Linked DNA regions of Homo sapiens: regions 2 and 3 are each linked to region 1. Evidence: promoter capture Hi-C in human tissues and cell types (Jung and others, 2019). All regions are on one chromosome and are shown on one strand. The core of a region is centred on a gene start or on the middle of the fragment in contact, and the rest is flanking DNA. Distances in the headings are between cores, read along the strand shown. Region 1 holds the start of RORB (RAR related orphan receptor B). Region 2 has its middle 410 kb from the start of RORB. Region 3 has its middle 380 kb from the start of RORB.

Region 1 (3,222 bases), core at 502-3,001:
TGCCCAGAGCTTGCACAGATCCCCATGTCAAGCGGACACCCGCCTGGCTCTTCAGTAAAAGAGTGAAGAAAGGCCGAGCACAGCGCGAAGGAAACCTGAGGTCTCCGGCAAGGCAGGAGAGGAGACCAAGTGACTCCCCGAAACCCACCCTCCAGCCCTTCGAGAGGCCCAGAGTCCAGCCGGAGCAAGCGTAACGCTACAGTCCCTGGCGCGCATCCCTGCAGACCCCAGCTCGCCCCGGGGTCCCGCCGCCGCCGCCGCCACCGCCTGCGACTGCGAGGGTCCTGGCCCGAGGGTGCACCAGCACCTCCTTCCACTACCGGCCCTTTATCTGACAAAAGAGCCGGAGCCCATGACTCTCCGACTGTGAGCAGTGTGGCCTTTCCAAGCCTCCAGAACTTTCTCATTACAACTTTTCCGGGGTCGCACTACTCCCTGGGCCGCGCGGGCTCGGGCACGAGGACCTGGCCAGGGCGCAGCGCCGGCACGAAGGCGCGCGCCGCAGAACTGTTTCCTCAGCCGCGTGCCGGGGAACTAACTGTTTCCTCAGCCGCGTCCAGCCTCGCAGCACTGCTCTTCTGCTTGCTACTCCAGCGAAGGGACATGCCTGCTGGCCAGGACGCTTAGTGGGCCTCGTAACCTGGCGAGTGTGTGCCCGCGCGTGTCCACCCTGCCCCCGGCCGGTGCGCCCCGCGCGCCCAAACCCGGCCGGCGACCACTGCGCGCCGGGCGCTTCCAAACTGCTCCTGTCCAGAGGCATCCCTCTTTCGGCTTTCTCCATCCCGCGTCCGCTTCCGCACCCGAGAGCGACAAGCAAAAAAGATTCAGTGCAACTCAAGGACTGGTAAGAACCAACTAGCCTGTCTCCCCTCTCCAAAAAAGCGCCCTCCCGCGTCCCTCCAGAACTCCCGAAAGACATCAACACCTTCCCGCAACTTTCTACGCCCAGGCCATTTGCAGCCCCACCTGCGAGAGCGAATTCGGGGAACTGCGCCTGGGCAACCTCTTTCCCTTTCTGCTGGGTGCCCTCCCCTCCCCCATCTCCCCGTCTGGCTGGAGTTGGCCGGACTCGGGGAGCCTCGGTGCCCGCAGACTCGCTTACCTCGCATGGTGTGGCCGCTCTCCCGCTCCGCGTAGTCATGAAGCTGCTCCCAGCCCGAACCCCGGAGAGCCCAAAAATCCCGCTCAGCACGAGTGAAGAAGGTGGTCGGCGAAGAGCTGCTCTGCCGAGAAAACCATCCCTTTAGGCGGACGCCGTGGCTGCAGGGTGACGTTTGCCGCCGCCGCCGCTATGTTAACAGTTTTGATGTTGGTGGTGACTGTTTTGATGATTGTTTGTTTGTTTGTTTGTTTTCAGGAAGGGTGAAAAAAAAATGTTCTGGCTGTCTGGTGCCTGGGTTTTGTTTTGGTTTTGTTTTTCTTTTTCTTTCTCTCCAATGTGCTTGCTTTTTAAAAAATGCCACCGCCTCCGGCTCAGAAGATTTCTTTTGTGATCACTTGGACTGAGGAGGAGGAGGAAGGGCAGCAGCAGGAGGAGGAGTTGGTGGTGGTTTTGTTAGTTACAAAGAAGAGGGAGAAGGAACAAGGGGGAAAAAAGGAAACAGAAAGAAAAGAAAGAAAGGCGGTGTGGATGGCAGAGCATGTGCGTTTTCACATGACATCTGTGCCTGTTAGCGGATCCACAATGTGAATTTTCACTGTTCAGTTACAGGGAGGAAGGGAGCAGCGAGAGAGAAAGAGAGGGGAGAGATGGAGAGAGAGCGCTGAGAGGGGCTTATACGCGAGGGCGGGCTTGGCCGCGACTTCCAGGCCCCGCCTGCTGTCAGCGCAGCCGCCAATCAGAGCCCAGCAGCGCCTGGAGAGGCTGGGACCGCGGGGAGGGGACGTGGTGGAGGCGGGGGGTGGGGCGGGGGCTGGGGACCAGGGAGTCCGAGGTGGCCGGGGCTGCGACGGGGAATTCGAGACTGTCCGAACTGGGCAGAGAAGAAGGGCCGACCGGGAGAGTCGGGCAGATCCGCAGGTGACAGGCACTTCCGACTCCAGCAGAGAAGGGGACACTGATCACGGAAAACCTTCGGAGGCAAGAGACGCGGGGCTCCCCGGGTTTCACGTTCGGTCCCTGTCTCGCAACCCCCGCGGGCCCGGCAGAGTTAGTTTTGAATTTATGGCAGCGCTTTGCCGAGCGCTATTTGGGTAAACTTCGGTCTCCGGCGGGGGTTTCCGTGGGCAGGTGGTTTGGGTGTTGGTGGTAGAATAATGCAAACCCACTTTCATCACTTTTAGCACAACTAAAATGCAGTCCCATGGAAGTAGCTGTCCCCTTCCTTTAAAAACGTCCGTCAGATGCTCCCTGACCCTCTTCTAAAAAAAAAAAAAAAAGAAAGAAAGAAAGAAAAAAACGTGTATATGTTCTTTTGTCTGGGAAATTGATTTTTATTAGCATTTGGAGACTCCCCTGGCGATGGACTACAGGACTGAAGGAGAACAGCTCAAATTGGCGGTGTAGCCACCTTACTAATTCAAGAGAAATGGCTGTTGCTAGAAGGTGTGATTGCAGGGTGCTCTTTAGAAAGGTTTTAGAAGGAAGACATTGTTAACTTTAGTTAGAGGCGATTGGTAACTGAACATAGATAAACTTACTTGTATTCCTTAGGTGAAAATTGTCATCTATGACCATTTATTTGTATTTTGATAAAAATCTAATACATATATCCAAACTGTTCCTTTGCAAGTTTTTCCAACTCAGTTGACAAAATAAGCATATAGATGATTACATCTACTTCCTTCCCAATAGTAGGGAACTTCTTAAATACTTGAGTTAATTGAACACCCTAAAAGATTGGGAGGTGAAAATATTTGCCTCATTCACTCAGTCTTGAGGCTGGGAGATGTCTACTCATTAGCATACCTGTTGGCACAGCAGGCCTCATCATCATTTAAGTATCCAAATAATTTGATTTTTGACTGGTATTTATTCATGATATGTCATGTAACACAAAGTACAATGTAGAATTGGCAGTTATTTAGTTAATTAGGTCGCTCTACACTGCCAAGTAGTTTTTTCCTTCCTGATTAAATGAAAAATGAATTATCTGCTGAATTTTCACCAGTATTAAATTGACGTAGCCCTGCTATATGCCATCCCATTTGCAAACCAATGTGTAATTTAGGAAAATTTTAGTATTAAGAGTGAAAGTTGATTGAGTCATTAATTAAATGAAA
Region 2 (3,222 bases), core at 411-2,910, 410 kb after region 1:
TCCCAAGGGAGGTCCCTCGATCTGAGTCACGGCACCAAATTTCATGCGCGTCCATGTGAAGAGACCACCAAACAGGCTTTGTGTGAGCAACATGGCTGTTTATTTCACCTGGGTGCAGGCGGGCTGAGTCCGAAAAGAGAGTCAGCGAAGGGAGATAAGGGTGGGGCCGTTTTATAGGATTGGATAGGTAAAGGAAAATTACAGTCAAAGGGGGTTTGTTCTCTGGCAGGCAGGAGTGGGGGTCGCAAGGTGCTCAGTGGGGGTGCTTTTTGAGTCAGGATGAGCCAGGAAAAGGACTTTCACAAGGTAATGTCATCAATTAAGGCAAGGACTGGCCATTTACACTTCTTTTGTGGTGGAATGTCATCAGTTAAGGTGGGGCAGGGCATATTCACTTCTTTTGTGATTCTTCAGTTACTTCAGGCCATCTGGGCATATATGTGCAAGTCACAGGGGATGTGATGGCTTGGCTTGGGCTCAGAGGCCTGACAGGCTCTGCATACCTGAGGATATTTTAAACGTAAGGAGCCATCAATTCCTTGGATGAGTAAAATGTAGCTTTCCTGGATAGAAAGGTCCATGTCAGATGATCTTTGGAGATCTGTGCTACCTTTAGAACTCTCCAAATCATTTCAGTGATCAAGCTAAAAATAAAATAATATTTATATGAATTCTGACTAAGCAGTCAATCAACAAGTTCATGACAAGTATTCTTGTGATTGGTGGAAATGGAGTCAGTCAATATACATTTTCACTATTCCAGTATTCTCAGGAACAGAATTGGGTACATATTTATATTGACCTTGACTTTGCTGCTGGATAAAATCATCTAGGAATATATAATGTATTTACCGATGTGGAAAATTTATAGCATTCTCATTCAAATTTCTAGCCACAATGTTTATAAACTCATCTAGTATCAGTATCTTTCACCAAATCTTGATTACCAGGAAGGTGGTTACTATGCCCTTTACAATATAATAGTGACTAGCAAATTTAGTAGACAGAGTTCAGAGGTGATAAAATTGTTCTCTTTACTATACATATTGAAGAATTGTTTATTTTTTAATAATAATTTGTTTAATAAAAATAAAATTAAATTATAAAAATAAAAGCAAAGGCAAGCATTCAATAATATTAAGTGACATCAAGTAAGTCTTTTGTATAGTTACCTGACTAGAAGGATGTAATTCTTTGATAGCACTGAATATTTCTTACTCTGCCAGGAAGGTGATGTTTCTGAACAGTTTTAGTGCAGTTATTTATACATTATAGATGTTTATTACATTTTTGATAAACAAAAATAAAATTAGTATCATTAAACCTGTTCTTACAAAATTAACATAAAACACACAAACACATCCAAAACAAAAGTTTGCTCCAGCAATTGATAGCAAGAAGTCAATTACATTGATTTTCATTTTCATGATTTCAGATCAATTTCCAATGTTCCTTTTTTTTGTTTTTCTTAATTTAATCTTAGTCACTAGGTAGATACAGCCTTAAATTATAATTCTTCCATTTAAAGGATTCATGACATTTTAGCAATTGAGATGCCTGAATTAGCAAAGTGTAATTGCAGATTTTAGGATTAATCCTAGAGTTTAAAAGCTAAACTTAAGCATGGATCAGTGTTTCCCACTAACTAGTGACACTCTTTTGCCATTCAGTTTTCCAACTGATAGAGAGTGACTATTGCAGATAATGTTTCTGCATTTAAACCCATAAGAATTATTGTGAAAGCAAGCGGAACTCAAGAGAGACCAGGGGGTTGGAGTGAAAGAACCCTTGCAGTGAAAGGAATCAAGGATTGTCTTTAGAACCCATGCTACCTGAGCAACCAGGTCAAAAAACTTCCTCTAATGAAGATCCATCCATTACCATGACATGCAAGCTCTGTCTGTAGATCACTTTCATGGTCTCCAAAGAAGCTGAGCAGTTATCAGTAACATTCAAAAATCCACTGGAAAGTCATTCATTTCACTTTATGGTCCTAATTAGCCATTTGTATAGTTCTATAATTAAATATGTTCCTTTCTCATCAAGTTTTTCACTTTAGTAATGATACAACTGTGCCACAAACAGGCCCCATGCTGCTGGGTTTGGGACTTATTCATAGCATTTAATTGGTCACCCAGTGGTTAGCCAATAACCCCTTCTATGGGAAGCAACACTCTGAATGCTGTTAATGGGATGGAGGCACAGTGATTGCCTCCTGGTACCCAGCAGTACTGGGAATAAAGCAATTTCCTCCACTGTGTTGTGTGCCCAATAGCTAATCCTTTCCACTCCTGAAATGCACACTATTTGGTTATAAGTATTTGTGCTGGCTTACTTACCGCTGGGTTGTTAATAGGCAGTGATTCTTCAATGCTCCTTCAGTGAAGTTACAGTCTGCTTGCTGACTGCTAATTAAAACAAGTTTGCTCTCTAAGACTGTGACTAAAAGGTAGCAAGGTCATCTTATTTAATGCAATAACCTTTTATTTAACAATGTTGATACACTAGTCATATGTGCACATTTTGCAAACTGGCACATCTATTATTGTTTGCTTCAAAAGGACAAAACTGAGCTACTGACTAGTCTGCTTTCCTTTGAAGTGGAATTGTTAAAAATCCCCAGTTCAAGCTTCTGTTATACAGTTGAAACACAAGGCTTGCTGCAGGATTCTATTTACGGTATTTGGGCTTCTGAAAACAAATAGAAAAAAGTCATCTGTACTAACCACAAATGCCTAAGCTATTAAAGTAATACTTGGATTCTATTCCCATGTGTTTTGTTTTAATTATAGTTTGATATATGAAAGGGCATTATAGACTCTACAAATTAGAAAGTAAAACAATCGGTAGATGGCACTTCCTAACCACCTGCTTGGTGTAAATATACATGATGAAGTCTCAGAAATGGTATTCTGTCCAAAAATGGGATTCTGGACAATAAAATAAAAATTGGAGTGACCTGTAACAGAGACAATCATATTTTGGCTTGTATAATGCCCAGATATTTTAATGTCACATCTCATAAAGATCTGGGGAAAAATCTAATTTGCTGATTTTTTGATGTGCATTTCTTCCTTAACATTCCTGAGATTTACCTCCAATGATGACAAAAAAAGCAATGTAATGTACTCTATAAGACAATATGGTACTTCTTCATAACTTAGGCACTTTTCAGAGAGCCAAGAATGTCAAAGTTAATTGTTCAGTGGTCTCAAAGTTTTC
Region 3 (3,222 bases), core at 420-2,919, 380 kb after region 1:
CAAATACTTGACCTCAAAGGATTGGACTGATTACTCTCATCCTACCATGTTGAGGGTTTCGACAGTGTTGACAGGATGCTGTCTTAATATCCAGTGATAAGACAAACCATTTGCTTGTGTCTTGTAGTCTTTCCTTTTCACACGCCACCCTACTCCTGCCTGCCTCACAGCAGTTGATTGTGACATCCTCTCTTTTCTACATGGTTCAGGCCAGCAGATGTGTGCTGCTTCAGTGCTGATGAGCAGGATAGCAACACTTCCTGGGCAATGACCTTGTCATGTGACACGCAGTATGGCTATATGATGCTACGAAACAGCAGCAGCAGGCCAACCAAGCTTGCAGCCATCCAGAATGGCATGATTCATTTTGATCAAAGAATCAAGATGACTTGCAGACTAAGAGAAATAGCTCTAACCTGAAGGATGGTCTTTCTATAAACATCCCAAAAGGTGACATATTCTGGACTTGTTTATTCACATGCACATGAAAAAAATATAGTTGTCTTCTCACTGTTATATTTGAATATAAAAAAGACAACACATGAATATTTGTACTTCTTAATGCCTTTTATTTTCCCTGAGGCACTTTGTGGGATTTCATAACTTATGAACTACATATTCTCCCAAACCTTATGTATGCTTAGTGTGCAAGACAGAGCTACTCGTTCCTTTAGAGACTCAGGAAAAATTACAATGATTTCCTGGATTGCAAAATAGATAAATCTCATGCTTCAAATATATAACTTGATGCTGGGGAGGTTGCAGAGAAAAGGGAACACTTATAAACTGTTGCTGAGAGTGTAAATTAGTTTAACCATTGTGGAAAGCAGTACAGCAATTCCTCAAAGGGCTAAAAACAGAAATAGCATTTGACCCAGCAGTCTTATGACTCGGTATATATGCAGAGGAATATAAATTGTTCTACCATAAAGACGCATGCACGACATGCATGCAAATGTTCACTGCAGCACTATTCACAGTAGCAAAGACACAGAAACAAACTAAATGTCCATCAATGACAGATTGGATAAAGAAAATGTGTTACATTTGGAATATTACCAAATATTATGGAATATTACTCAGCCATAACAAAGAAAAAGATCATGTCTTTTGTGGGAACATGAATGGAGCTGGAGGCCATTATCTTTAGGAAATTCACACAGGAACAGAAAACCAAATACCACATGTTCTCACTTATAAATGGGAGATAAATGATGAGAACACATGGACACAAAGAAGAGAACAACAGACAGTGGGGTCTCTCAGGGGTTGGAGGGTGGGAGGAGAGAGAGAAGTAGAAAAAATAACTATAGCATACTAGGTTTAGAACCAGGGTGATGAAATTATCCATGTAACAAACTCCTGTGATGCGGGTTTACCTATATAACAAACCTGAACATGTACCCTTGAACCTAAAATAAACATTTAAAAAAAACCACACACACAAAAAACTTTCAAACTCCCACAAATTTAGAACTTGCTATACACCCTGAATGTTTGTGTTCCCCCAAAGTTCACGTTAAAGCCTTATCAAAAAGGTGATGATATTACTGGGTTAGGCCTAGTGGAAGATGATTAGGTCTTGGGGGCTCCCATGGATGGGGTTAGTGCCCTTATAAAAGAGGCCTCAGAGAGATGCCTTGCAAGCCCTTCTACCATGTGGGGATCAGAAGGTACGATGTATGAACCAGGAGGTAGAACCTCACCTGACACTGAATCTGCCAAGCACCTTGATCTTGGACTTCCCAGACTCTAAAACCATGAGAAATAAATTTCTGGTGTTTATAAATTACCAGTTTGTGGTCTTTTGTTATAGCAGCCTGAATAGGATAAGACACAATCATACTGCTTCATCAAGAACTTTCAAGAGATAAATAGGAGAAAAAAATGAGAGACAAATAATAGTTTCTTATTAATAAAAGACTAGATATAAGCTTAACAAAGTAAAAATCATAAAGAAAGTACTACACATCCACATTTGGCTTTATTTCCCATCTTTTCATTTACAACGGTATACCATTTTCTTTAGTTTTGTAGGATTTAGCTATTTCCCTTTTAAGACACCTTTGTAAGGATCTTCTTTCCTTCCTACTTTCCTTTCCTCTATCTTCCCTCCTTTCCAATATCCTTTTCCTTTTGTGAAAAACGGCCTTCTAAATTTATCTTGGGTTGGAAAATAAGGCAACTTCATTTTATATTACCTTTGAGATGTGAATGGAAAACACTACTTTTGTCTTGAGCTTAAAGACTTTCATTTCAATAACAGCTACAAAATCAAAACATAATAATTTTTTTAGCTATAAATTGTCTGTCCAGTTAAATAGTGAATTAATATCCTCATCTGAGTTTTCACCCACCAGGTTAGTTATTCTATTTTCTAACCATTTTACTAACTGATAATTGCTTACCTGCTTCATCTTCATCATCTTTGTTATGCAGAACACATTCTTTTAAAACAGCTAGAGCTTTTTCCTATCTTCTGAACACTGTCATTTGGGGAAAAAAAATGTATTATCTAAGTTTGCAATGGCTGTATTAATTTAAGATTCTTCCAGGTTTTATTTAAAGTGCTTACTTTTATGTGCTTTGATATTTAGTGTTTCTGGGATCCATAAAGTTAACTGAAAAGACAAATGGCACTAGGATGTAGTGCTGTGGGTGAAAGGCTATGCCTTAATTTGGCAAAGTGACTTTAAATTAGGCCCCAGTCTCAGTTGGTTCCCCATTATTTTGTTCCATTAACGTGGATTTGGAAAAAACTTTCAAACACCGACTCTTGTAAAATCTTCCACAGCCATCAGATTGTCTCCTTAACAGAAAATAAGAGAAGAAAAATGTCACGAAGAGCAAGGATTATCTTAACCTTGTACTACACTGATCAGAACCCTGCTCGAAGTCAATGATTGTACAACTTACCAGGATAACCCAGTGACTCAGGGTTGCAGAATGCTAATCTTCAGAATCAGGGTCAGAAACAGCACAAGGATTAAAGACATTGCCACTCATAATGAGTGCCAGAGTAAAGGCTGACCACATTTCACTGATATAAGCCACAGAAAACATGCAATTACTTTAGAAGTTACTTTAGTGTCAGAAATTATGAAGAAGTATTTAATTGTGACTCCTTCCTCCATTATTCCATCTGCCTCTAATTTTTAACTGTATCAACTTAATAAAGAGCATTGTTTACTAAAGATACATTGACCACTGTGTTTTCTTTAC

Evidence for each region. The method cuts DNA at HindIII sites, captures the fragments that hold promoters and counts their contacts. A contact is called where the count stands out against the background at its distance.
Region 2: a contact is called between a fragment that was not itself captured here and the fragment with the promoter of RORB in region 1, in 2 of the 25 tissues and cell types used here (lymphoblastoid cells and mesenchymal stem cells).
Region 3: a fragment that was not itself captured here is called in contact with the fragment with the promoter of RORB in region 1 in 2 of the 25 tissues and cell types used here (bladder and lymphoblastoid cells).

What each region holds. Positions count from the first base shown.
Region 1 is chr9:74,495,864-74,499,085 of GRCh38, reverse strand. RORB (RAR related orphan receptor B) reads right to left here and starts at 1,751. Exons shown (of 10, transcript NM_006914.4): 1 at 1,103-1,751. The coding sequence starts at 1,109. It overlaps RORB-AS1 (RORB antisense RNA 1), which reads left to right and starts at 533. Exons shown (of 5, transcript NR_125791.1): 1 at 533-844. RefSeq lists silencers at 1,519-1,813, 1,718-1,907, 1,903-2,115. The HindIII fragment of the contact is 7,823 bases long and covers 1-3,222 here.
Region 2 is chr9:74,082,852-74,086,073 of GRCh38, reverse strand. No RefSeq gene overlaps it. Among named protein-coding and RNA genes, the nearest start is that of RORB, 410 kb to the left of the region's middle. RefSeq lists enhancers at 1-263, 264-827. The HindIII fragment of the contact is 7,929 bases long and covers 1-3,222 here.
Region 3 is chr9:74,117,670-74,120,891 of GRCh38, reverse strand. No RefSeq gene overlaps it. Among named protein-coding and RNA genes, the nearest start is that of RORB, 380 kb to the left of the region's middle. The HindIII fragment of the contact is 3,224 bases long and covers 58-3,222 here.